Regions from separate parts of the Homo sapiens genome. Here regions 2, 3, 4, 5, 6 and 7 are each linked to region 1. The links are contacts of gene promoters, found by promoter capture Hi-C in blood cells and fetal thymus (Javierre and others, 2016). All regions are on one chromosome and are shown on one strand. The core of a region is centred on a gene start or on the middle of the fragment in contact, and the rest is flanking DNA. Distances in the headings are between cores, read along the strand shown.

What was found. The method cuts DNA at HindIII sites, captures the fragments that hold promoters and counts their contacts. A CHiCAGO score of 5 or more calls a contact.
Region 2: a contact is called between a fragment that was not itself captured here and the fragment with the promoter of BCAP31 in region 1, in 9 of 17 cell types (total CD8 T cells, total B cells, erythroblasts and 6 more). The highest score is 13.7, in total CD8 T cells.
Region 3: a contact is called between the fragment with the promoter of G6PD here and the fragment with the promoter of BCAP31 in region 1, in 10 of 17 cell types (activated CD4 T cells, monocytes, naive B cells and 7 more). The highest score is 11.6, in activated CD4 T cells.
Region 4: a contact is called between a fragment that was not itself captured here and the fragment with the promoter of BCAP31 in region 1, in 5 of 17 cell types (naive B cells, fetal thymus, total B cells and 2 more). The highest score is 7.7, in naive B cells.
Region 5: a fragment that was not itself captured here is called in contact with the fragment with the promoter of BCAP31 in region 1 in 7 of 17 cell types (naive CD8 T cells, activated CD4 T cells, total B cells and 4 more); the score reaches 9.3 in naive CD8 T cells.
Region 6: a contact is called between the fragment with the promoter of FAM3A here and the fragment with the promoter of BCAP31 in region 1, in 4 of 17 cell types (non-activated CD4 T cells, naive B cells, naive CD4 T cells and 1 more). The highest score is 8.1, in non-activated CD4 T cells.
Region 7: a contact is called between the fragment with the promoter of PLXNA3 here and the fragment with the promoter of BCAP31 in region 1, in 6 of 17 cell types (total CD4 T cells, naive CD8 T cells, erythroblasts and 3 more). The highest score is 8.1, in total CD4 T cells.

Annotation. Positions count from the first base shown.
Region 1 is chrX:153,722,572-153,725,636 of GRCh38, reverse strand. It overlaps BCAP31 (B cell receptor associated protein 31), which reads left to right and starts at 1,250. Exons shown (of 8, transcript NM_001256447.2): 1 at 1,250-1,303; 2 at 2,349-2,484. The coding sequence starts at 2,393. It overlaps ABCD1 (ATP binding cassette subfamily D member 1), which reads right to left and starts at 781. Exons shown (of 10, transcript NM_000033.4): 1 at 1-781. The coding sequence starts at 370. RefSeq lists an enhancer at 1-161 and silencers at 622-1,581, 1,792-1,971. The HindIII fragment of the contact is 9,880 bases long and covers 1-3,065 here.
Region 2 is chrX:152,950,111-152,953,087 of GRCh38, reverse strand. All of the region lies in intron 18 of ZNF185 (zinc finger protein 185 with LIM domain), which reads right to left. Among named protein-coding and RNA genes, the nearest start is that of PNMA5, 43 kb to the left of the region's middle. The HindIII fragment of the contact is 270 bases long and covers 1,120-1,389 here.
Region 3 is chrX:154,545,016-154,548,095 of GRCh38, reverse strand. G6PD (glucose-6-phosphate dehydrogenase) reads left to right here and starts at 1,250. Exons shown (of 13, transcript NM_001360016.2): 1 at 1,250-1,307; 2 at 1,933-2,060. The coding sequence starts at 1,941. IKBKG (inhibitor of nuclear factor kappa B kinase regulatory subunit gamma) reads right to left here and starts at 476. Exons shown (of 10, transcript NM_001099857.5): 1 at 351-476. RefSeq lists enhancers at 89-368, 1,671-2,214 and a silencer at 809-1,368. The HindIII fragment of the contact is 7,888 bases long and covers 1-3,080 here.
Region 4 is chrX:154,485,630-154,488,873 of GRCh38, reverse strand. It overlaps UBL4A (ubiquitin like 4A), which reads left to right and starts at 2,259. Exons shown (of 4, transcript NM_014235.5): 1 at 2,259-2,337; 2 at 2,541-2,646; 3 at 2,895-3,103; 4 at 3,225-3,244. The coding sequence starts at 2,290. It overlaps SLC10A3 (solute carrier family 10 member 3), which reads left to right. Exons shown (of 2, transcript NM_019848.5): 2 at 1-1,563. The coding sequence ends at 1,367. RefSeq lists enhancers at 1,656-1,715, 2,053-2,811, 2,812-3,244 and silencers at 1,976-2,235, 2,726-2,875. The HindIII fragment of the contact is 182 bases long and covers 1,385-1,566 here.
Region 5 is chrX:152,975,861-152,978,861 of GRCh38, reverse strand. No RefSeq gene overlaps it. Among named protein-coding and RNA genes, the nearest start is that of PNMA5, 17 kb to the left of the region's middle. The HindIII fragment of the contact is 177 bases long and covers 1,171-1,347 here.
Region 6 is chrX:154,514,941-154,518,110 of GRCh38, reverse strand. FAM3A (FAM3 metabolism regulating signaling molecule A) reads left to right here and starts at 1,879. Exons shown (of 9, transcript NM_021806.4): 1 at 1,879-2,351. The coding sequence starts at 2,339. It overlaps LOC124905229 (a long non-coding RNA gene), which reads right to left and starts at 2,631. Exons shown (of 2, transcript XR_007068357.1): 1 at 2,396-2,631. RefSeq lists silencers at 1,233-1,389, 1,605-2,014 and enhancers at 1,365-1,987, 1,988-2,611. The HindIII fragment of the contact is 19,151 bases long and covers 1-3,170 here.
Region 7 is chrX:154,456,998-154,460,155 of GRCh38, reverse strand. It overlaps PLXNA3 (plexin A3), which reads right to left and starts at 1,875. Exons shown (of 33, transcript NM_017514.5): 1 at 1,728-1,875. RefSeq lists enhancers at 420-972, 2,398-2,467 and silencers at 1,458-1,527, 1,768-2,007, 2,138-2,307. The HindIII fragment of the contact is 19,869 bases long and covers 1-3,158 here.

The DNA of each region.
Region 1 (3,065 bases), core at 1-2,500:
GGACGATGCAGCGGGCCAGCCTTCCGTCCAGGCGGGCCACATACACCGACAGGAAGGTGCGGCTCACCAAGGCGGCCGAGTGCAGGGCCAGCAGCCCCGTCTCCCGGCACAGGACCCGGGGGAACAGCAGCCGCAGGAGCCACAGGAGCCGCTGCAGGAATACCCGGTTCATGCCAGCTTTGGCCGCCGCGACCCCGGAGGCCTCCTGCGTGGGCTCCCCGGCGGGCGCCTGAAGACCCCTGGCCGGGGCCAGGCACTGGCGCACCAAGGGGTAGACTTTGTGGGCTCCATAGGCCGCGAGGGCCAGGAGCACGGCCGTGCGCTTCAGCGTGTTCCCCCGCCAGGGCCGGGGCCTGGAGAGCACCGGCATGTCACCTGGGCTGGCTGCCGCGTAGGGACTGGGGCTGGTGCCTGGGGCAGCAGTTGAGGCAGGTGGCTGGAAGGATTGTTGCTCTGACCCTGGGCCTGTTGTCTAGGCAACTGGAAACCTTGCGATGGCCCCTGAGACTGTCGCTTTAGGCCCCCGGGGTGGTGCTGGGGCCCCTGGTGCGGTGGGCTCAGGGCCCTCCAGGGTCGCGGCCTCTTCGGGCAGCCCAAGTGGAGGAACTTGGCTCTCCTGTCCTGTCAGTGCCCTGGCCCCTGAGGTCAGGGCCTTGAGAGGTCTCGGGCAGAGGGGGCGTCTCTTCCTCTCCACCTTCTCCTCCTCCTCCTCCCCCGGTGGCGCCCCTCCCCGGGGCACCAGGCGCGTCCGTCCGCTCCGCAGCCTGGCTGAAGCGACAGTGACTCCTCCACCGGCCCAGAATCCCCACCCACTCTTCCCCAGGGGCGAGTCGGGGGAAGGGGAGGAGGCGGAGGAGGGGCGAGGGGCGGAGTCCGGGCGCGGGAGCCCCACCCTGTTCTCGCCCCTCGGCGGGGCCCGCCCACACCCCCACCTCCCGTTCTCGCCCCTCGGCGGGGCCCCTCCCGCACCACAGAGACGTGGGACGGCCGCGCGGACTAGAGAAGCGGCCCTCGCCGGCCCGACAAAGCCCCGCCCCGCCCCGCCCGCGTGCTCGCTCCACCCCGCCCTGCTCGCCCGGAGCCCGAGGCGCCTCTTCCTCTCCCGCTCGGAGCGCCGGCCCTCCGCTCCGGGGCGGGGTGGGAAGCGGAGGTGGGCGGAGCCTCCGGGGCCTCGCGAGGGCTGGTGGGCGGTGCCCGGCGGGCGCTTCCGGTTTCCGGCCGCGGTATGAGGGGCGGGGCCGGGGCTGCTGTGGGAGAGTTCTGTTGCTGCGGCGGGGCCTGCACGTTGACTGTGGGAAACTCGGTGAGCGGGCTCCGCGCGCCGGGCTGGGCTCCGGGACCGCGGAGGCTCCCCGGCCCATCGACGAGGGAGAGAGGCGAGCGGCGCGGGGAGGCCCGGGGGCCGGGGAATCTCGGGGCCCGCAGCCTACCTGCGTGTGAGAGGCAGGGGCGAGGGGAAACCGGGCGGCGCCTCTAGAAGCTGGTCTCGGGGGCGGGGCGGGGGGCGGTGAAGCCCCACCTGGAGGAGCGGCCGGGATGGGCCTCCGGGACGGTGTGCCAGGCCGGGGCCAAGTCGGAGGCCCCTCGCTCTGGGTGGGCGCTGGGGCCCGCGAGGGCTACTGTAAGGACCCCTGGCTTCTGAGGATACTGCGTCTAGAACTTTCTCCGTATGGGGCCTTGAGGTGCTTGGTCGAGACCTGCCTTTGCGCTTGGTCCCGAATCCTGCCCTCTAGGAGTCGCTCTTGCGGGCCTCCAGCCCACCGGAGGCGAAGCGGCCCCGGGCGGAAGGCCGCTGGATCCTCGAGGGAGGTGCCGGTTTCTCTCCGCGGGCGCCGTGGGGACGGTGGGAGGCGGGGGCGTCGGCAGCGCTTGGACTAGGTGCGGCCTTGGGCCTGCCTGGTAGCGGGGATTTGGGCCCGCAGAGCGCCCGCCTCTGCGGCTGAGTTCTGCCTGGCGGGGAAGGGAGCGCCCGATGGGTGCCGAGGCGTCCTCCTCTTGGTGCCCTGGCACTGCTCTTCCCGAAGAACGCCTTTCAGTTAAACGGGCGTCGGAAATCTCGGGCTTCCTGGGGCAGGGATCGTCGGGAGAGGCCGCTCTGGACGTGTTGACACACGTGCTGGAGGGGGCAGGTAATTGACCAGCGAACGGAAGTTTGTGGGGCCTGTGAACGCTGCTGGCCAAGAGGCCCTGCCGAGTGGAGCCCTGCTTCCGCCAGCGCATCAGAGACTTTGAAGCAAAGTGCAGGGGGTCAGGGTGGAGAGTGGCGGCCCCAGCCTCGCAGGGTAACTGAACTGGATGTTCTTGGCTGCCCAGCGCTTACAAGTCCCGTACCTTTTGTGCCCTGCCAGGAAACAAGCTCACATCTTCCTGTGGGAAACCTTCTAGCAACAGGATGAGTCTGCAGTGGACTGCAGTTGCCACCTTCCTCTATGCGGAGGTCTTTGTTGTGTTGCTTCTCTGCATTCCCTTCATTTCTCCTAAAAGGTATGGCCTATGGAGCAAGCAGGCGAGTTAGGCAGGAGGGTGCCTGTGCCCTAGCCCTGGGACTGGTGTGTGCAGCTGGTGGACCCTGGAATTGGGACCCGATGGAACAGGTAGAACCTGTCTGGGGTGGGGGTGGCAGGGGTTGTGTTTGTTATTGCCAACCCTTCCCAGGGTTCTGCTTCGTCATGACTTGCTCAGTTCCTTTTCCTGTGTCCCCTGCCTTCTGGTCTTCAGAATGCCCCCGAGAGGCAGGAAGATCTATGTTACAGTTCTGGAAATGATGCCCTCCCACCCACTCTTGGTCCACGGGGTGCTGGGATGGTAGCGTGGGATTCGGAAGACTTGCACCACTGGGTCACGTTGTTGCTGATTTGGTGACTCTTGTCCTCCTAACTAGTCTCACTGGTATTGCGCAGTGGCTGCATGAACATTACTCAGCCTGTGGAGGATGAAGCCATATTCCCTTTTAATGAACAGAGGACCTGTTAAAAGTGAATTGGAGATTAATTTTAATTATGTATAATACCTGAACACATCCCTATTTAAATTACGATATTACAAATAAGGCCAAATCTCCACAG
Region 2 (2,977 bases), core at 5-2,504, 770 kb after region 1:
CCCTTCAGCTCCTCAATGAGGACTGAAGAGAAACTTTGGCTCCCAGATGACGACTGTGTGCAGAACTTCCTAATGAGACTGTCCAGCCTGGCTCCTTTCTCTATTTGATCTGCCTCTTCCCACAGGTAACTCTCAATCTACTGGGTGCCCTTCCTCCTCCTCATCCTCCTCCTCCTCCCTTGCTGACTACATGCCCTGCCCCTATGGCACTCATTCTGTCCAGTATTTCCAAAACTGGCAAAAAAAAAAAAAAAAAGTAATCACGAAGGGTAATTTGGAACTTCAGTGACCTTATTAGGGAACCTGGGGTCTCCCCAAACCTGCTCATCTAAGATTCCCCCTTCTCATCTTCCTACCGCATCCCTCTTCCCTTCTTTTCACCACCTTGGACCTTCCCTTCAGCTCCCTGAATCTTTTCATCTGTCCCCTTCAATGCCTCTACCTCCTACATACCCCTATCTACTCTTCACCAGGCTTTCCCCTTCCCACTCAGCCCTCTCAACTGCCTATAGCCAGTAGAGCTTCAGGCCCCCTGCACCCATTGAGGGCTCGCCATTAGATCTCTATTTGTGTCTGTCTGTATGTTTAGTATACATGTATGTTGTATATGTGTAATAGTTCAGTACCTCCAGATGGCATTACCAAATTAATTTACAAAATCCCTTATCCTCTATTCTAATTGACTTAGAGATAAATAAGTACTTATATAAATTATTATAAAGCTCTCATAAATTAAGGAAACAACTTCTAATACTTTCAGTGTAAACAACAAAAAAGTATTCTTATAAAAACTAACCCAAATGCTTTTAAAACTCAAGTTCACAGAATTTATGTAAACTTTTGGCAAACAAAACTAGTTTAATATTGTTAGTTTAATAGACACCTATGTGTCTTTGAGTTATCAGCATTACATATAATACAACAGAATACAAGCATATATTTTTACTCTACTTGGGTATGTTCCTCCTAAACTTAAACAGGTTTACATGTTGAATAAGCTAGTATTATATCTACTACATGTTTAAGATTATAAAAATTTAAATTTGCTTTTAACCAAACTGAGTCATTATTCTGGCAAACTTTATTTCAACAGTAATTATGTTTTATAATATGTAAGCTTAAAGGCAGTTTCTAAAATCTTTTTGGTAACTTAAAACCTTAGACTTATGCTGAATTAAGTTAACTAAATTCATTAAATATCATTTATAAAGAAGATAAAATACTTAGTCACTAGACCTAAATTTAAGTTTATATACTTTTTGCTTTTTTTATGGTACAGTGTGACTACATATGGATCTGTTAAATGTGTTCATTTGTCCACATTGCAAAATGGTACTATAAAAAGTATATAACAACTATAAAAAGTTATGAGATGTATATTCATAAGCTTTACTAGTCTGCTACAAAATGCTGGTATATGATATTTCAAAATTACCTACCTCCTGTTTTCTCTGTGAAAGAGAAGTTATTAATGGTTAAAATTATAATAAGTAAATAAGTGTGTGTGTATATATATATATAAACTGCTAAAAGTAATAATGGCAAAAATGGCAAAGGGAAACAACTTTGTATGCAAATATGCTTTTCCTAAGGAAAAAGAGAATAGCTTTGTCCCAAATTAAAATGACAAATAATTTAAAAATGTGTGAGACAAAATGTAAACAAATATCTTTAAAATTAGAAAATGTTCACAGAAAAGGAATTTTATTTGTCATGGTTAAAACTTTTATTCAGTGTATTTATAAGATTTTCAAAAAAGAACTAATATCAAATATTATACTTGTATAAAATTAAAATGTTGGTTTCTCTGTTAAAATAACAAAATTTTCTTAGGCTAGGTGCAGTGGCTCACGCCTGTAATCCCAGCACTTTGGGAGGCTGAGGTGGGCAGTTCACCTGAGGTCAGGAGTTCGAGACCAGCCTGGCCAACATGGTGATCGCGCGACTGCACTCCAGCCTGGGCAACAGAGCAAGACTCCATCTCAAAAAAAAAAAAAAAAAATTCTTGATCATTGGTCTGTCCCTAATAAAAAGTTATAAATGGTCTGTTTTTCTTCTGAGTCATCTGCCTAAGAGGCAAAGATTTTATGTCTTATCAAAATACTGTAATGCCCTATCTGTATGTTCAGTTTATTATGTCCTTAGTTATTTTTTTAAAGTCTTTTCAATTTTAAAGGAACTGAAGATTCTTTACAACCATGTTACCTCATATGTTTACTTGAAAATTTTTACAACTCTGATTCACTAGCTAACCAAGTAGTATTTCTCGCTAACCCATAATGCTATTCAATCAAATGTTCGAGAACTCCTGACAACTCTTAACATTTGCCTTCCCACAATCAAAACTTAAATATATTTTATACCTAAAACTGGCTTTGGGATTTGCCAGGGACCTTCTGGAAAATCTCAAAGGATTAGTTCTTTCACCTTGTAACAAGAAAGGTGCAAAAACTAATTAGTCTTATTTAATATTGTATAAATTGCATTGGAAACATTGTCAAATCAAAAAAAAAATGCAGAACCTTCCCTAAATTAGTCTATAATGGGTAAAATGTCCTTAATATAAATATTTTAGAAATTCCATAGAATTCCTAGCGGGGTTTCAGTGTCCTCAGTGTACATGAGATATTGCTCTTTATCAAAGCCCCAGTGCTGCTTTGCCTTATATTAGATAAGAACAATACAAGGTTATCAATCATCATTTCAATTATGGGAAATTCACATTGCTCACTGATGGAATATTGTTAATATACAGATGTTTAGGACCTTTCCTGAACTGCCAATTTGATTTTATTCTGCACCCAAATCTCATGGTTATAAATATGTTCTTACTAGTTTATTTATGTTTTTCTCACTGGCTTGAAGCTTTCCCTTATATAAAAGGATCATTGCCACTAATGTTATTAAGCTTTTGTTAGAACAAGTATTCCCCACATGTGGAATTCTACCGCTTCTTTCAAATGACTAAGGAATCCAT
Region 3 (3,080 bases), core at 1-2,500, 820 kb before region 1:
AGATACCTAGCTGCCAAACTATATGTGAGGCATTTCCGAAGAATTTAACGACCTCGATAGAGCGCAGTCAAGTTTGGTGAACAGAATATGTCTCTGAACTAGAGGAGTCCTCACACAAGGAGTAGGGTCAGACCCCGCAGTGGAGGAGGAGGGAGGAGTAGAAACAGTCCAGCTCGCCGCCCAAGTAACCTGGGTCCTGAATCGGCCCGCCTTGGCCAGTGCTCCAGAAGCGCGGAGCAGGAACGGGCTGGGGCCCAAAAAAGAGGGGGGAGCCTGAACGTCCGGGGGAAGTTTCGGAGGCGGCGGAACGCCCACGGATGGAACCCTGTCTTTGGGGAAAAGGACCACACCTGTCAGCAGAGTCCGTCAGACGTGAGAAGGGTGGGAGCGGCGGACTGTGAACGCTGGTAGGGCCCCGGCGCTCCGAGAAAGTCCCAGTTTCGCGGTCGCCCTTCCCTACCACGCTTCCGGCTTCCGGTGTCATAGCTGTGGGATCCGGAAGTAAAAACACAAGCCCCGCCCCCGAGAACTCGGGAAGCCGGCGAGAAGTGTGAGGCCGCGGTAGGGCCGCATCCCGCTCCGGAGAGAAGTCTGAGTCCGCCAGGCTCTGCAGGCCCGCGGAAGCTCGGTAATGATAAGCACGCCGGCCACTTTGCAGGGCGTCACCGCCTACACGCCCCCTCGTCTCTCGGACGGCGGCGTCTAGCCTCGGGGCGCTCGGCCGCCCCGCCCTCTCCGGGGGAGGAATCAAGAAGAGACTGCCCAATAGGGCCGGCTTGACCCGCGAACAGGCGAGGGTTCCCGGGGGAGTGGCGCGGCAGAAGGCCCCGCCCAGGAGCCGAGGGACAGCCCAGAGGAGGCGTGGCCACGCTGCCGGCGGAAGTGGAGCCCTCCGCGAGCGCGCGAGGCCGCCGGGGCAGGCGGGGAAACCGGACAGTAGGGGCGGGGCCGGGCCGGCGATGGGGATGCGGGAGCACTACGCGGAGCTGCACCCGTGCCCGCCGGAATTGGGGATGCAGAGCAGCGGCAGCGGGTATGGCAGGCAGCCGGCGGGCCGGCCTCCAGCGCAGGTGCCCGAGAGGCAGGGGCTGGCCTGGGATGCGCGCGCACCTGCCCTCGCCCCGCCCCGCCCGCACGAGGGGTGGTGGCCGAGGCCCCGCCCCGCACGCCTCGCCTGAGGCGGGTCCGCTCAGCCCAGGCGCCCGCCCCCGCCCCCGCCGATTAAATGGGCCGGCGGGGCTCAGCCCCCGGAAACGGTCGTACACTTCGGGGCTGCGAGCGCGGAGGGCGACGACGACGAAGCGCAGGTAACCGGCCGGGCGGGCGCCGCGCAGGCGGAGGAGCGTACTGTCCCGCGCTGCGCCGCGCGGCGGTAAAATACACGCTGTTTGTTGTGCTTGAGAACCGAGCAGAATCGAGAGGGTCTTAACCAATCCCTTTATACCCCGCACCTCCTCTCTTGAGCCCCTGAGACCCCGAGAGCGAAGGGGACTTGCCGACCGGGGTCACCCAGCTTGGCAAGGGGAGGGCTGGAGCTGAACTCCAGCATCTGCACCATCTCCCATGCTCCAGGTCATTGTGGAGTTCCCGCTACAGTCGGGAATGAGATGGTCCTGGGCACGCAGTTCCATGCCCCACAAGGATTTTACTCGGTTGTCCAGAATTGATGCTGTAGTCGGAATACACCAATGCTTTGAGTAATTTTGTAATGTACACCCTGAATGAAGGCTGCCTAGGAGAGAGTGGCTGGAGCCCAGAGCCAGCAGTTTCTAACCCATCAACCACTCCCCAATGCCCAGCCGTTCACAAGGAGTGATTTGGGCAATCAGGTGTCACCCTGGTGTGAGACCCCAGAGGAACTCTCAAGAAAGGGGCTAACTTCTCAATGCTCTCCTGTTCTTCTGCCTTGTTAACGAGCCTTTCTTCCACCAGACAGCGTCATGGCAGAGCAGGTGGCCCTGAGCCGGACCCAGGTGTGCGGGATCCTGCGGGAAGAGCTTTTCCAGGGCGATGCCTTCCATCAGTCGGATACACACATATTCATCATCATGGGTGCATCGGTGAGTATCTCCCAGGCCCCAATCTTAAAAGCCAGGAAGTGCCTGCTCCATGCCTCAGCTTTTCCAACTAATTGTTGCAGGGCCCCACAGGCTCTGCTAAGTTGAGCTCCTCCTCCCGCTCCTGCTAGTGCGCCAGGATCATCCCGGCTCTACCTGGTGTGCATATGCACTTGCAAGACTTTTTTTTTTTTTTTTTTTTGGAGACGGAGTTTTGCTCTGGTCGCCCAGGATGGGGTGCAGTGGCGCCATCTTGGCTCACTGCAACCTCGGCCTCCTGGGTTCAAGCGATTCTCCTGCCTCAGCCCCCCAAGTAGCTGAGATTACAGGCATGCACCACCACACCCGGCTAATTTTTGTATTGTTAGTAGAGACGGAGTTTCACCATGTTGACCAGGCTGGTCTCAAACTCCTGACCTCAAGTGATCCGCCCGCCTCGGCCTCCCAAAGTGCTGGGATGACAGGCATGAGCCACCACGCCCGGCTGCAGGACGTTTCTGAACCCTGTGCCTAGCCGCTGAATGTAGCCCTTAATCCTGGAGTTGCAGGCTCTTTAGGGACTGTCTAGATGGACTTCTTGGGGAAAACAGGGAATGCTATTCATTCTGTAGTTTTTTCAGACCTGTTCATGCCTTAACAAATGAGTTCCAAAGGCAGGATCTGAGGCCTGATCTCTGCCTCTTCACTAACACTTCAAGTTCCGTCGATACAAACACTTAGCTTTTCTTTGAACACTGTCTCTTTGCCTCAATTTCGAAAGCCTACCAAGGAGCTCTGCCTCACCCCACCTGGCCCCAATTGTCCAGCTTGTAGAACCGCCATTCTGCACTCATAGGAAAGACAAAAGAATAGTATAGCATGAGGATTTCCATGGGAGGGGAGGGAGGGGTGGTCCTAGGACAGCCATCGCCCGAGACTAGAGCACCCTCCCCTGTGTCCCATGGGGCAGTGAGACTGTGCAGGGGCTGGTGGAACAAGGGCTTCATCTCAAATTACACGTGGTCTCAGTTTTCACTTTTAACC
Region 4 (3,244 bases), core at 226-2,725, 760 kb before region 1:
CAGGTCCCTTAAGCATGCTCAGAGCTGCCCTGCTGCTCATCAGCCTGCCATGGGGGGCCCAAGGGACAGCCAGCACCAGCCTCAGCACTGCTGGGGGTCACACCGTGCCACCGACTGGGGGCCGCTACTTGAGCATTGGAGATGGCTCTGTGATGGAGTTTGAGTTTCCTGAGGACAGTGAGGGCATCATCGTGATCTCCAGCCAGTACCCAGGCCAGGCCAACAGGACGGCGCCTGGCCCCATGCTCAGGGTCACCTCCCTGGACACAGAGGTGCTGACCATCAAGAACGTGAGTGCTATAACCTGGGGAGGCGGGGGTGGCTTTGTGGTGAGCATCCACTCAGGCCTGGCTGGGCTGGCCCCACTCCACATCCAGCTCGTGGACGCCCATGAGGCCCCGCCCACACTGATTGAGGAGCGGAGAGACTTCTGCATCAAGGTCTCACCTGCTGAAGACACGCCTGCCACCCTCAGCGCCGACCTGGCCCACTTCTCGGAAAACCCAATCCTCTACCTGCTCCTGCCTCTTATCTTTGTCAACAAGTGTTCGTTTGGGTGCAAAGTGGAACTCGAGGTTCTGAAGGGGCTCATGCAGAGCCCCCAGCCCATGCTGCTGGGCCTCCTGGGCCAGTTTCTGGTCATGCCCTTGTACGCTTTCCTCATGGCCAAGGTCTTCATGCTGCCCAAGGCCCTGGCTCTGGGCCTCATCATCACCTGCTCGTCGCCTGGCGGCGGGGGGAGCTACCTCTTCAGCCTCCTTCTTGGAGGGGACGTCACCCTGGCCATCTCCATGACTTTCCTCTCTACGGTGGCTGCCACTGGCTTCTTGCCTCTGTCTTCGGCCATCTACAGCCGCCTGCTCAGCATCCATGAGACGCTCCACGTGCCCATCTCCAAGATCCTGGGGACCCTGCTGTTCATTGCCATCCCCATAGCCGTGGGCGTGCTGATCAAGTCCAAGCTCCCCAAGTTCTCCCAGCTGCTGCTGCAGGTCGTCAAGCCCTTCAGCTTTGTGCTCCTCCTGGGCGGCCTCTTCCTGGCCTATCGCATGGGGGTCTTCATCCTGGCAGGCATCCGGCTACCCATCGTACTGGTGGGTATCACGGTGCCCCTGGTTGGCCTGTTGGTGGGCTACTGCCTAGCCACGTGTCTGAAGCTGCCAGTGGCCCAGCGGCGGACGGTCAGCATTGAGGTAGGGGTGCAGAACAGCCTGCTGGCCTTGGCCATGCTGCAGCTATCCCTCCGCCGCCTTCAAGCTGACTATGCCTCCCAGGCCCCCTTCATTGTGGCGCTGAGCGGCACCTCCGAGATGCTGGCCTTGGTCATTGGCCACTTCATCTACAGCAGCCTGTTCCCAGTTCCCTGAGGCCTCTGGGTCAAGCTTTCATCAGCCCCAGCCCCCACACTCCACCAAAGTTCTCATGCACTATGCACTCAGAAAAATCCAGGCTTATTTTTTTTACTGATTTTTTATTCTCCAGCTTTCAGTGCCAAAGAGGCCATGCTGAGTTAGGTAGGTGGGCGCTGCCCAGAAAATATATTTCAATAAAAGAGAGAAGCAAGCTTGGGTCCCTTCTACTCTTTGCCCTTTGGGGCCTGGGCGTGGGGGTAGAAAGAGTGTGCTGGGTAAGTGTGGACCAGGGTGGAGGGCCAGCTTGGGTGACACGGTGACCCCTGCATAGGCTTTCCCTATCAGCCCTCCCCGGGGGTGTCCCCACTCTGGGAGAGGTGGGAGGATGAGGGCAGAGGCGTAGCCCCCCTGCCCCCTCTCAAGCTCAGTGGAGCGTTTCGCAGCCAGACCAGAAAGGAGGAGGTAGGAAGCCACCAGACAGGGAGCGGGGGCGGGCCGTCTGTGGGTATGCAGGGCCAGGCGCCGCCAGCAGTCCTGGCGCGTGAGGTGGGCCAGGCAGTCCGCGGGGGCGAGCGTACCTTCTGGCCCTCCCTTCTCCATGTCCCAGCTCCCAGATGACGCCAACCTGGCCCGACTGGTTCCTGCTCCCAACTCCCCCGCGTCGTTGCTTTGGGAGGGGTCCGCCGGCCAGGGCGGTCGATGCGCGCATGCTAGGCGGGACCCCGGGGGGACTCCTCCCGGGGCGCAATTGGGCCGGGGGGCGGGGCCGGGGCGCGGACGGGGCAGGAGGGCGGGGCCGGGAAGCGCGGGCGGCGGGCGCGCCCCTCTCGCTGCTTCCGGCGGCGGCGGGCGGTTCCAGCGCGCGCCCGGGGCGGCGGCGCGCGGCGGGGGGTGGTTGGGGTGCGCGCCGGCCCGAGTGGACGCCGTCGCGACCGCCATGCAGCTGACGGTGAAGGCGCTGCAGGGCCGCGAGTGCAGCCTGCAGGTAGGGTCCCCGGGCCGGGCCGCCGGGTCCGGCGCGCTCTCTCGCCCGCTCCTGGCAGGGGGACCGGCAGGGCCGAGGGCGGGCACGGGGCGGCCGGGCCGAGGGCCGGGAGCCGGGAGAGCTGCCCTCGGGGGCGGACGCGTGGGCTTCGCCGTCTGGGGGCCGCGGGCTCAACCCTTGCCTCCCACCCTCCGCGCGGCCAGGTGCCAGAGGACGAGCTGGTGTCCACGCTGAAGCAGCTGGTCTCCGAGAAGCTGAACGTCCCAGTGCGCCAGCAGCGGCTGCTGTTCAAGGGCAAGGCCCTGGCAGGTACCCAGGGAGAGGAGACGCCCGGGGAGCCCCGCAGGAAGCGGGACCGGGGTGCGCGGGCCGAGGCCAGCAGCCGTGTGTCGGGTCGGGGTGCGGGCGCCAAGCGCCACATGACCCCAAGGGAGGCGGCCGCATGCCTCACAGCCGGATGCCGCAGCGCTCCGCTCCCGCCGCCCGAGGCGGCCTCGCGCCCCGGGCCACCCCCACGGCGGTGGAGGAGGAGGAACCCATCGATCTGTCTTTGGCAGATGGGAAACGACTCTCGGATTATAGCATCGGGCCCAACTCCAAGCTCAACCTAGTGGTCAAACCCCTGGAGAAGGTGCTACTAGAAGAAGGCGAGGCCCAGAGGCTGGCCGACTCCCCACCCCCGCAGGTCTGGCAGCTGATCTCCAAAGTCTTGGCCCGCCACTTCAGTGCGGCAGATGCCAGCAGGGTCCTGGAACAGCTACAGAGGGTGAGAAGGGTAACCCTGGGCATCCTCTTCAGGCCCAGTTGCTCCCAGCCCCTACCTCTGTTGCAGTGTATGCCCCCCCACCACTGGCAGCCCCTGAATCTTCCTGCCCTTCTCTCCCCAGGATTACGAGAGGTCCCTGAG
Region 5 (3,001 bases), core at 10-2,509, 750 kb after region 1:
GAATGGGATGATGAGAAAGAACCAGCAATGGAGATAGAAAAGGAGTGACCAGTGAGGTGGAAGGAAAGGCAGAATGGGCCTAGAGGCCTAGCAAAGGGAATGGACCTGATATGGTTTGGCTCTGTGTCCCCATCCAAATCTAATCACGAATTGTAATCCCCACACGTCAAGGGAGGGAGCCATAATTCCCACATGTTGAGAGAGGGAGGTGACTGGATAATGGGGGCAGTTCCCCCCATGCTGTTCTCGTGATAGTGACTTCTCAGAGATGTGATGGCTTTATAAGCGTTGGCATTTCCCCTGCTTGTACTTCTCTCTCCTGCAGCCTTGTGAAGAAGGTGCCTGCATCCCCATCACCTTCTGCCATGATTGTAAGTTTCCTGAGGCCTCCCAGCCATGTGGAACTGTGAGTCGATTAAACCTCTTTCCTTTATAAATTACCCAGTCTCAGGTATTTCTTTATAGCAGTGTGAAAACAAACTAATACATGTCCACTGGACCAAACGCTGCTGCTCAGTCAATGAGGCCTGAGAAGTGTGCATGGGGTCTAGCAATGTGGTGGTCATTGGGGACCTTAGCACTAGCATTTTTAGTACCATGGTGGAGGTGAGAGCCTCAAAGAAGTGGGTTCAAAAGAAAATGAAAAAAGAGTAAAGACTTTCATGTTTATTTAGCACCTGCTTCCTATCATTGACCAGAAGGACAGGGTCTTTGATTTGTCACTGGTGTGTCCTCAGTGCCTACTATAGTGTGTGGCCCACAGTGGGTGCTCAGGAAATATTTAAATTATTAAATGGATGAATGAATGAATGATTCTTTCTCATCCTTCAGGTTTCAGTTCAGAGGTCACCTCCCCCAGAATACCATCCTTAGCCCCAGAAATCCAGGTGACACACCTCTGTGCTCCTTTAGCTATTGCGACTGAAATAGGATTGTTGCTTTGTCTTTCTCCCCATGAGATGGTCACTCCACAAATTCACAGATTGTCTGTCTTGCTCATTGATGTATCCCCAGTGCCCCACAGAAGGCTTGATGCACTGTACAAGGAAAGTGAGTAGCCTTGAGGGGTGGAGCTGAGTGCAGGGGAACATTAAAGAGGGCCTGGAAGATAGCCTCCTTTTGTATAGCAAACTCATACTAAAGCCAAATATCATGTCCTTGTGAAAAGCTTCTCTGTTAGATGTGGTGGTATGTGCATCTGTAGTCTCAGCAACTCAGGTGGCTGAGCCTGGATAACTGCTTGAGCCCAGGAGTTTGAGGTTGCAGTGAGCTACGACCATGCCACTGCTCTCCAGCCTGGGTGACAGAGTAAAAATCTGTCTCTAAAAACAAAAATGTAAAAAAGCTTCCCTGACTAAGTGTTGTGGGAAGTCAGGGACCCCGAACGGAGAGACCAGCTGGAGCCGTGGCAGAGGAACACAAATTGTGAAGATTTCATTTTAACATGGACATTTATCAGTTCCCAAAATTAGTACTTTCATAATTTCTTATGCCTGTCTTTAATCTCTTAATCCTGTTATGTTCAAAAAGAAAGGGAGAGATGTTGCGGGAAGTCAGAGACCCTGAACGGAGGGACTGGCTGGAGCCACAGCAGAGGAACATAAATTGTGAAGATTTCATTTTAGTATGGACATTTATCAGCTCCCAAAATTAATGCTTTTATAATTTCTTATGCCGGTCTTTACTTTAATCTCTTAATCCTGTTATCTTCGTAAGCTGAGAATATACATCAGGTCCACTCAGAACCACTATTGTGTTAACTGTACAAACTGATTGTAAAACATGTGTGTTTGAACAATATGAAATCAGTGCACCTTGAAAAAGAACAGAGTAACAGCGATTTTTAGGGAACAAGGGAAGACAACCATAAGGTCTGACTGCCTGTGGGGTCGGGCAGAATAGAGCCATATTTTTCTTCTTGCAGAGAGCCTATAAACAGACGTGTGCAAGTAGGGAAGATATCACTAAATTCTCTTCCTAGCAAGGAATATTAATAATTAAGACCCTGGGAAAGGAATGCATTCCTGGGGGGGGAGGTCTATAAACGGCCGCTCTGGGAGTGTCTGTCTTATGAGGTTGAGATAAGGATAGAAATACGCCCTGGTCTCCTGCAGTACCCTCAGGCTTACTAGGATTGGGAAACCCCCAGCCCTGGTAAATTTGAGGTCAGACTGGTTCTCTGCTCTTGAACCCTGTTTTCTGTTAAGATGTTTATCAAGACAATACATGCACAGCTGAACATAGACCCCTATCAGGAGTTCTGATTTTGTCCTTGCTCTGTTTCCTCAGAAGCATGTGATCTTTGTTCTGCTTTTTGCCCCTTAAAGCATGTGACCTACTCCCCATTTGTACACCCCCTCCCCTTTTGAAATCCTTAGTAAAAACTTACTAGTTTTGTGGCTCAGGTGGGCATCACAGTCCTACCAATATGTGATGTCACCCCCGGAGGCCCAGCTATAAAATTCCTCTCTTTGTACTCTTTCTATTTCTCAGCTGGCTGACATTTATGGAAAACAGAAAGAACTTACGTTGAAATATTGGGGGCGGGTTCCCCCGATAACCAAGCAGCCCAGAGTAGGTCACTATATTATAGCATATAGGTCAAGGCTGCAGTGAGGGCCTTGACCCTGTCTCCAAAACATACCCTGTATGTTTTGTTCAGAGCACTTATCACAACAGTATTTTGTTGTGGGATGTTTGATTTACTCCTCTCCTCTTACACTGTGAGCTCCACAGAAATACAAACTGTGTCTACTTTACTGGGGCCCCCACGTCTGGCACATGGGTAGACATCCAATCAATGCTTGTTGAGTGATTAAGTGACCAACTGGAACATCAAGGTGCTGATCAAAAGAAGGCATCGATGGGCAGAAGACATTTGTGGGAGGAGATACTGAAGCAGGGGGATCTGCCAAGGGCACTACAGGCAGAGGACATGATAAGGAGGTGATCTGGCAGCCAAGCATTATGCATGCCACGTTGCAGCAAGCTCACAACTGGA
Region 6 (3,170 bases), core at 630-3,129, 790 kb before region 1:
CCTGGAAGAACAGATGACTGTGAGTGTACCCCAGGACGTTGGCCTGGATGGTGACAGACCATGTGCTCTAGTCACCGTGCTGGCCAGACCCCCACAGGAATCCAAACCATCCCAGAGAAAATAAGGGACTTTTGCAAGGCTGCCCCAGGAAGCACGGAAGACGTGGAACTGAATCCCAGGCCTCTGGCCCATCACCCACGTGGTGTCCCCAAGGAAGGGAGAGTTGTCTCGGAATGCTCAGGGGGACTCATTAAAGCAACACTTTCATAAATGCCTGCTCTGAACAACATGTAAATATTGTCTTTGAAAAACACCGGCTGGCAGCTCAAGGGTGTGAGTAACCTGGAGCTTCTTCGACTGGGCCCCCCTGAGGAGGGCATGGAGCCCAAGATTCGTTACCATAATTACTTGAGAGGCTGTCAAATTCCATGACAAAACGCAAATGCAAAGCCCTGGCCCCAGCAGCAGGCAGCTGAAAGGGACCTTGACCCTGTTGAGTACTCCAGTATAGAAGCTGCTGGATTCTAACCAGGGCTCTCCCATGCCCGGCTCTATAAACTTTCTCTATATTTTGCATTGTTTCCCTAAGGGTAGGAGATTCCCGTAAGTTGGGTCAAAGGGCAGGGAGGTTTCCGTGGTTCTCATTGGGCCCTGCTGCTGCTCTCCAGACAGATGATGGATCAGCTGTCAGGGTGGCCCCGGCCATGCCAGCGCAGTAGGTGGTCAGGGCGCACTTGGGGCAGCCGGCAGGGCAGAAGGGACGGGAGCTTGACCCGTGTTCTCATGGGCAGAGGGAGCCCGGGCAGTGTTGGGGGCAGCGTGCGGGCAGGCGCGGAGGGGAGATAGCCAGGCAGTCAGGGAGAATTGGGGTGACTGGAGAAAGGCCGAAGGGCCGCGTCTGCCTGCGGCCGGAGACCACCCCAGGTCCATACAGCCAGCTGGGTGCCGGGCACCATTTGGAGCCGCTGGGAAAGCCAAGCACCGCTCTTTCTGGAGCCTTCTTTTTTCCTATTGTTAGGGAATTCACGACGTCACACTTGTTTTCAAGTGAAAATAAGAGTTGTGTAGGACGCGAAAGTCACGTGACTTGAAAGCTGAACCTGAGAGGCCTCAAAATAAATTCTGGTTTGCTGTGAAAGCCTCGGGTTATAGCGCTAAACTCCCCCCTCCACTGCCCCCGAAAGTTGTATTCTCCTCTGCTTTTAGGGTGGGGTGTGGCGTAAACAACACAGCTTGAGCAGCTCTGAGGAGGAGGGTGTTAGAGACCAGGCAGGCGGAGCAGGCAAGAGTTTTCAAGGATGTCGAAATAGTTTGAGACGCCCCGTCCCATTATAAAAGTGATAACGAGAGACAGCAGGAACGCGCTTCTGGACAGAAAACAGACCCTAAGGAAAGGCAGCCAGAGGCTCACGCTGGATCCTGCGGTCTTCCCTATCTGCGCCTCTGTACCTCCCTTGCCTTTACAAAGCGCATGGATCAACTTTGGAACAGGTTCTAATTCTGCCCCAGATCCATCTGCGTCTTCCCACGACTCACAAATCTGACCTCAGGGTGCAAGCGCAGCCCCAGCCCTCTAAGCCTGGGTAGGCAGGGCTCTCCCACCCGAGAAAGGGCCGAGGGGAGACTTCCGGGGCGGGACCGACGTGGGCCCCTCCCACTCGGCGGCCGGTGGGTTCAGCCTGAACGCACTGCGGAGGTGGGGCCGACGAGGGATCCAGGGGCGGGACAGGTTCGGGGCGGGACAGGTTCAGGCCCCTCCCATGCGGCGGCCAGCGCGAGCGGTAGAGGCGGGTCTGGAGGCGGGGCCTGCGTGGAGCCAGACGGCGCAGCTGCTGCCGGGGGCGGGGCCGGCGGGCTGTGGCCCCGCCCTTAGCCGCCATTGCCGGGCCTGCCTGGCCACCCTGCGCAGCGGCCTTGCGTCCTCTCCCGGGGCGGAGCGGGTCGGCGGGCCTGACAGGGAACCTCCCTGACCGAGCCCACGTCTCCCCACGGCCAGAGAAATCTCCGGCCCGGCCCGCATCGCCAGCCCCCAGGCCCGGAGGAACGGCCCGAGCCCAGGAGAACCACATCTTCGTCCCAGCCCCGGAGGCTCCTGTGGGCAAGATCGTGAGCCAACGGGTTCCTGAGGCCCCTCCTGGCCAGGCAGGGTTTCCCCGCGCGTTTCCGAGGAGCCCTGCCTGGCCGGGCGGCTGGACAAACAGGTCGTAGCACCGATCGCGCCCGCCCCCAGCAGGGGTCCCGCACAGGCTTGCCCCTGACCCCCACCCAAACCTGTCCTTCCGCTTTGCCCCCAAACAGTGCACTTGCCGGCGGTCCCAACCCAGCAGGAGAAGTGGACATGAGGTTGGCAGGTGGGTGGCTTCCACAGCGAACGGGAGGGAGTTGAAAAGGGCACCTGGCTGGAGGCCCAGCGTCGCGACATCTGTGTCTGGAGAGGCCCGGGTGAACCACTGGGTTTGGTTTTGGAAATGGAGGACTCTGCACAAACACTCGTTCCTTGACCTTAACCAAATCCTTTCACCTCTGAGGACGTCAGCTCCCCGAGCTATGACATGAGGATTAGTATAGTCAGTATCTCCCAACGCAGGTAGCAGACCAGCTGCTTTTTGGAAAATGAGTGGTGAGAGAGAGGAGGTGGGCAGTCCAGGTGGAGAGGCGTGGTCTTAGAGGGGAAGTGACAAAAGTGGCTGTGGGCTTCGACATGAACCCGATGACAGCCCTACTGTCACCTGGACAAGTAAGATGAAGATCCTTGGGGAGGGATAGGTTGGGGCTGGGTGGAGAGTAGAAACAACTCGGGAATTGGACTTCAGACTTGCTAAGGTGGTAACTTTGTGGACATATCCAGGTGGAGCTGGCCACTGAGGAACCAGCTGGCAGGGAGTGGTTTCAAGAGAGGCCACGGCTGGAACTAGAAAATAGAAAGTCATTGACACATGGTGCTTAATTAAAGAGCTAGGAGTAGATGACATCATCTAAAAACACACTACAGGCCGGGCGCGGTGGCTCACGCCTGTAATCCTAGCACTTTGGGAGGCCGAGGTGGGAGGATCACTTGAAGTCAGGAGTTCGAGACCAGCCTGGCCAACATGGTGAATCCTCATCTCTACTAAAAAAATACAAAAAAATGAGCCTGGCGTGGTGGCGGGTGCCTGTAATCCCAGCTACCC
Region 7 (3,158 bases), core at 626-3,125, 730 kb before region 1:
TAGGGAGAGACGGTGTGTGGGAGTCAGAGGCCTCGAGCCACAGAGGGCTGGGCCATTCACCCACCACCCCGCCAAAGCCCCAGATGGCCACCGTGACAGGGAGAGAGGAGGGGCCTCCGCCAGGGCGCATGAGTGAGCAGCCAGCGAGGGCAGGCTTGGGGGCCATCAATCGTCCCTCAGCCCCCATGCTGGAAAGGAGCCAGGAGGCCTCGCCTCAGCTGGGCCACACCCAAGGGGGTAGCAGAGCAGATGCTGGAACTGGGACCCCAGATGCCACATCTCAGAGCCCGGGGCAACCAACAGCAAAGAACAGCAAGCCCCAGGCCTCTGGGCTGCCCCCAACGCCTGAGCTGAGGGGAGAGGGAGGCAGGCACAGAATAATCGCAAGCTGGGGGAGAGGGGCAGGGCCAGGAACACCACCTGGAGTGGCACTGCCACCAGGAGCCCTGGGACAGAGGTCTGGGGAATGGAGGCCTGATGCAGGATCCAGCACCACCATGTCCCCTGCAGGGGCCCCAGCTGCCTCCCCGACAAGGGCCTCAGCTGGCCATCCAGGAGCCCGCTGTCTGGCCTCCCCGATGCAACACAAAGCCAAGTCGCGCCTGCCCCTCAGCCACGCACCCAGACACACATCAGTCAAGCTCTGCTCAGCCACAGCCTGCATGGCTCCCCCTCCAGACCCAGGGGTTCACTGGAGAAGGGAATGTACAGGGGGCCCTACCTGCCCTTTGGAGTCCCAGGAGCCTTACAAGAGGAGGAGCAATGTCCCCAAATACAGTCAAGGCCTTGGAGAGACAGGGCAGGAGCCACAGGGACAGTGCTGGGACTGGCACTTAGTCCCCAGGCCACACCCAGTCAGCCCCAGGCTGCTAAGACAGCAGAGCAGTGTCGTGGCAGCCAACAGGGCAGGGCTCAGCGCTACCCTCTCAGTGCCAGAGCTCCCGGGGGAGATAGGAGGTACCCAGCTTGAGGGCGGGAGGCGGGGGGGGAGCGGGGGGTGGTGCAGGGAACCAAACCAAGGAGGCACAGGAGAGAGAAAGGAAAAATAAGGCATTTGCCAGGAACAAGCAGCGGGCCCAGCTTGAAACTGCAAAGTTTCAGCTCAGATTGATCACCTCTCCAGGGCTCTTTTGTCAGCTGGACCCCTCATGCAACAGCCGGAGAAGAAAGGAAGGCCAAAGAAAAGAGAGGCCACATCCTGTCTTCACCTCCTCTACACCCCGGGAACACAAGCCTAGGAACAGGCTGGGGACAGGTCGGGAGGGAGACCTGGGGAGGCAGTTTCAGGCCCAGCCCCCACCTGTAAGTGGCAACCTCGGGCATCACAGGTACAGCTGGGCCAGCAGAGAGCCTGAGGAAGGGGCAGCCCCACGCAGAGACGGGGGTCCAGCGGCCGCCCCCCACACCCCCCACCGTGCTGCTGGTCCGGTTTGCCCGGGCCCCATCAGGGCACCCCTCGGCGGACTCGCGGAGCCCTTAGCGGGAGGGAAGTACAGCGTTGATCCTCCGAGGGGCCGCTCCCCTGCGACAAAGGGTCCTCTTTGGGCAGGGTGTTGGTCTTGGGTTGGCGTCCCCACCATGCGGGGCACAAGGAGTCGGGCAGGCCGGCGCCGACGGGCAGGGATAGGGCCTGACCCCCACAGGCCGAGCCGGACCCCCGGGCTGCCGGAGCCCCGGGCCCCGAGCTGTTTGGCCCCGCACGGACGGCGACGATGACGGCCACCTACCTGTCCCTCCGCTGGCTCCGGGTGGCCGCCCTCTGGCCACGTGGACGCGCCCCCGAGCCCCACCGCGGCCCCGCTCGCACGTCCCCACGGCCTCGCCCCGCGCCCCGGGCCCCAAGCGCGCAGCCGCCGCCGCCGCCGCCCACACACTGGGCTGGCCCGGGGGCCGCCGGAGCCTTTTAAACCCGGACCGTACCACCGCGCGGGGCGGGGGCGTCCGGGGACGCCCGGCCGAGGGGGACGCGGCGGCAGGGGACGCAGGCGGGGCCGCTGCTCCCCGGGGCCAGGGACCTCGCGCGCAGCCCTGACCCCCGCGACCTGAAGGGGGACCCGCCCGGCCAGCCGACCCCCTTCGCTCGATGGCCGCGTCCGCGGCGCGCGCCTCCCCCGCGCCCCGGCTCCCCGCCCGCCGCCTCGGGCGACCCCGGAACCCGCGCGCGCCCGCGCCACACCCCCTCGGGCCTGGGGCGCGCGTCCGCCTCGCCCCACCCTGGCGCTCGGAGACGCGCCCGGGGTCACCTGCCACCGGGGCGCGGCCTCGCTGGTCCCGGCCTCTCAGGTGCACCCCCGCCGAGGAGTCGCGTCCCCAGCTCAAGACACGCCCCCGACGGTCTCTAACCCGGAGGGCCTGCGGGACAGCCGTCCAAACCAGCCCCTTCCCCGGCGACCCTGAACCGAGGGCTTTCTTCCTTCCCTTGCTTTCTTTTTCCTTTTCTTTTTTTGTTTTCTTTTGACACAGGGTCTCGCTCTGTCACCCGGGCTGGAGTGCAGTGGTGAGATCATAGCTCACTGCAGCCTCGACCGCCCCAGGCTCAAACGATGCTCCCGCCTCAGCCTCCCAAAGTGCTGGGACTACAGGTGTGAGCCACCGCGCCCCGTTAAGGTTTTCTTTTTCATTTCCCTGATGACTAATGGTGTTCAGCATCTTTTCATGTGCTTGCTGGCCTTTTGTATATGATCTCTGAAGAAATGTCTATTCAAGTCATTTGCCCATTTTTATTAAACACATATATGGAGAGATAGATAGATAGACAGATTTTTCCCCCCAAGTTGAGGTCGCGCTCTATCACCCAGGCTGCAGTGTAGCGGCATTGGATCATGGCTCACTGCAGCCTCGACTTCCTGGGCTCAAGGGATCCTCCTGCCTCAGCCTCCCAGGTAGCTGGGACCACAGGCAAGTGCCACCACGCCTGGCTAACTTTTCCTATTCTTGTAGAGAGAGACAGGGTCTTGCTACACTGCCCAGGCTAGTCTTGAACTCCTGGGCTTAAGTAATCCTCCTGCCTCAGCCTTCCAAAGTACTGGCATATGCTGGGTGCAGTGACTCAAGCCTGTAATCCCAGCATTTTGGAAGGCTGAAGTGAGCGGATCACCTGAGGTCAGGAGTTCGAGACCAGCCTGGCCAACATGGCAAAACCCCATCTCTACAAAAAA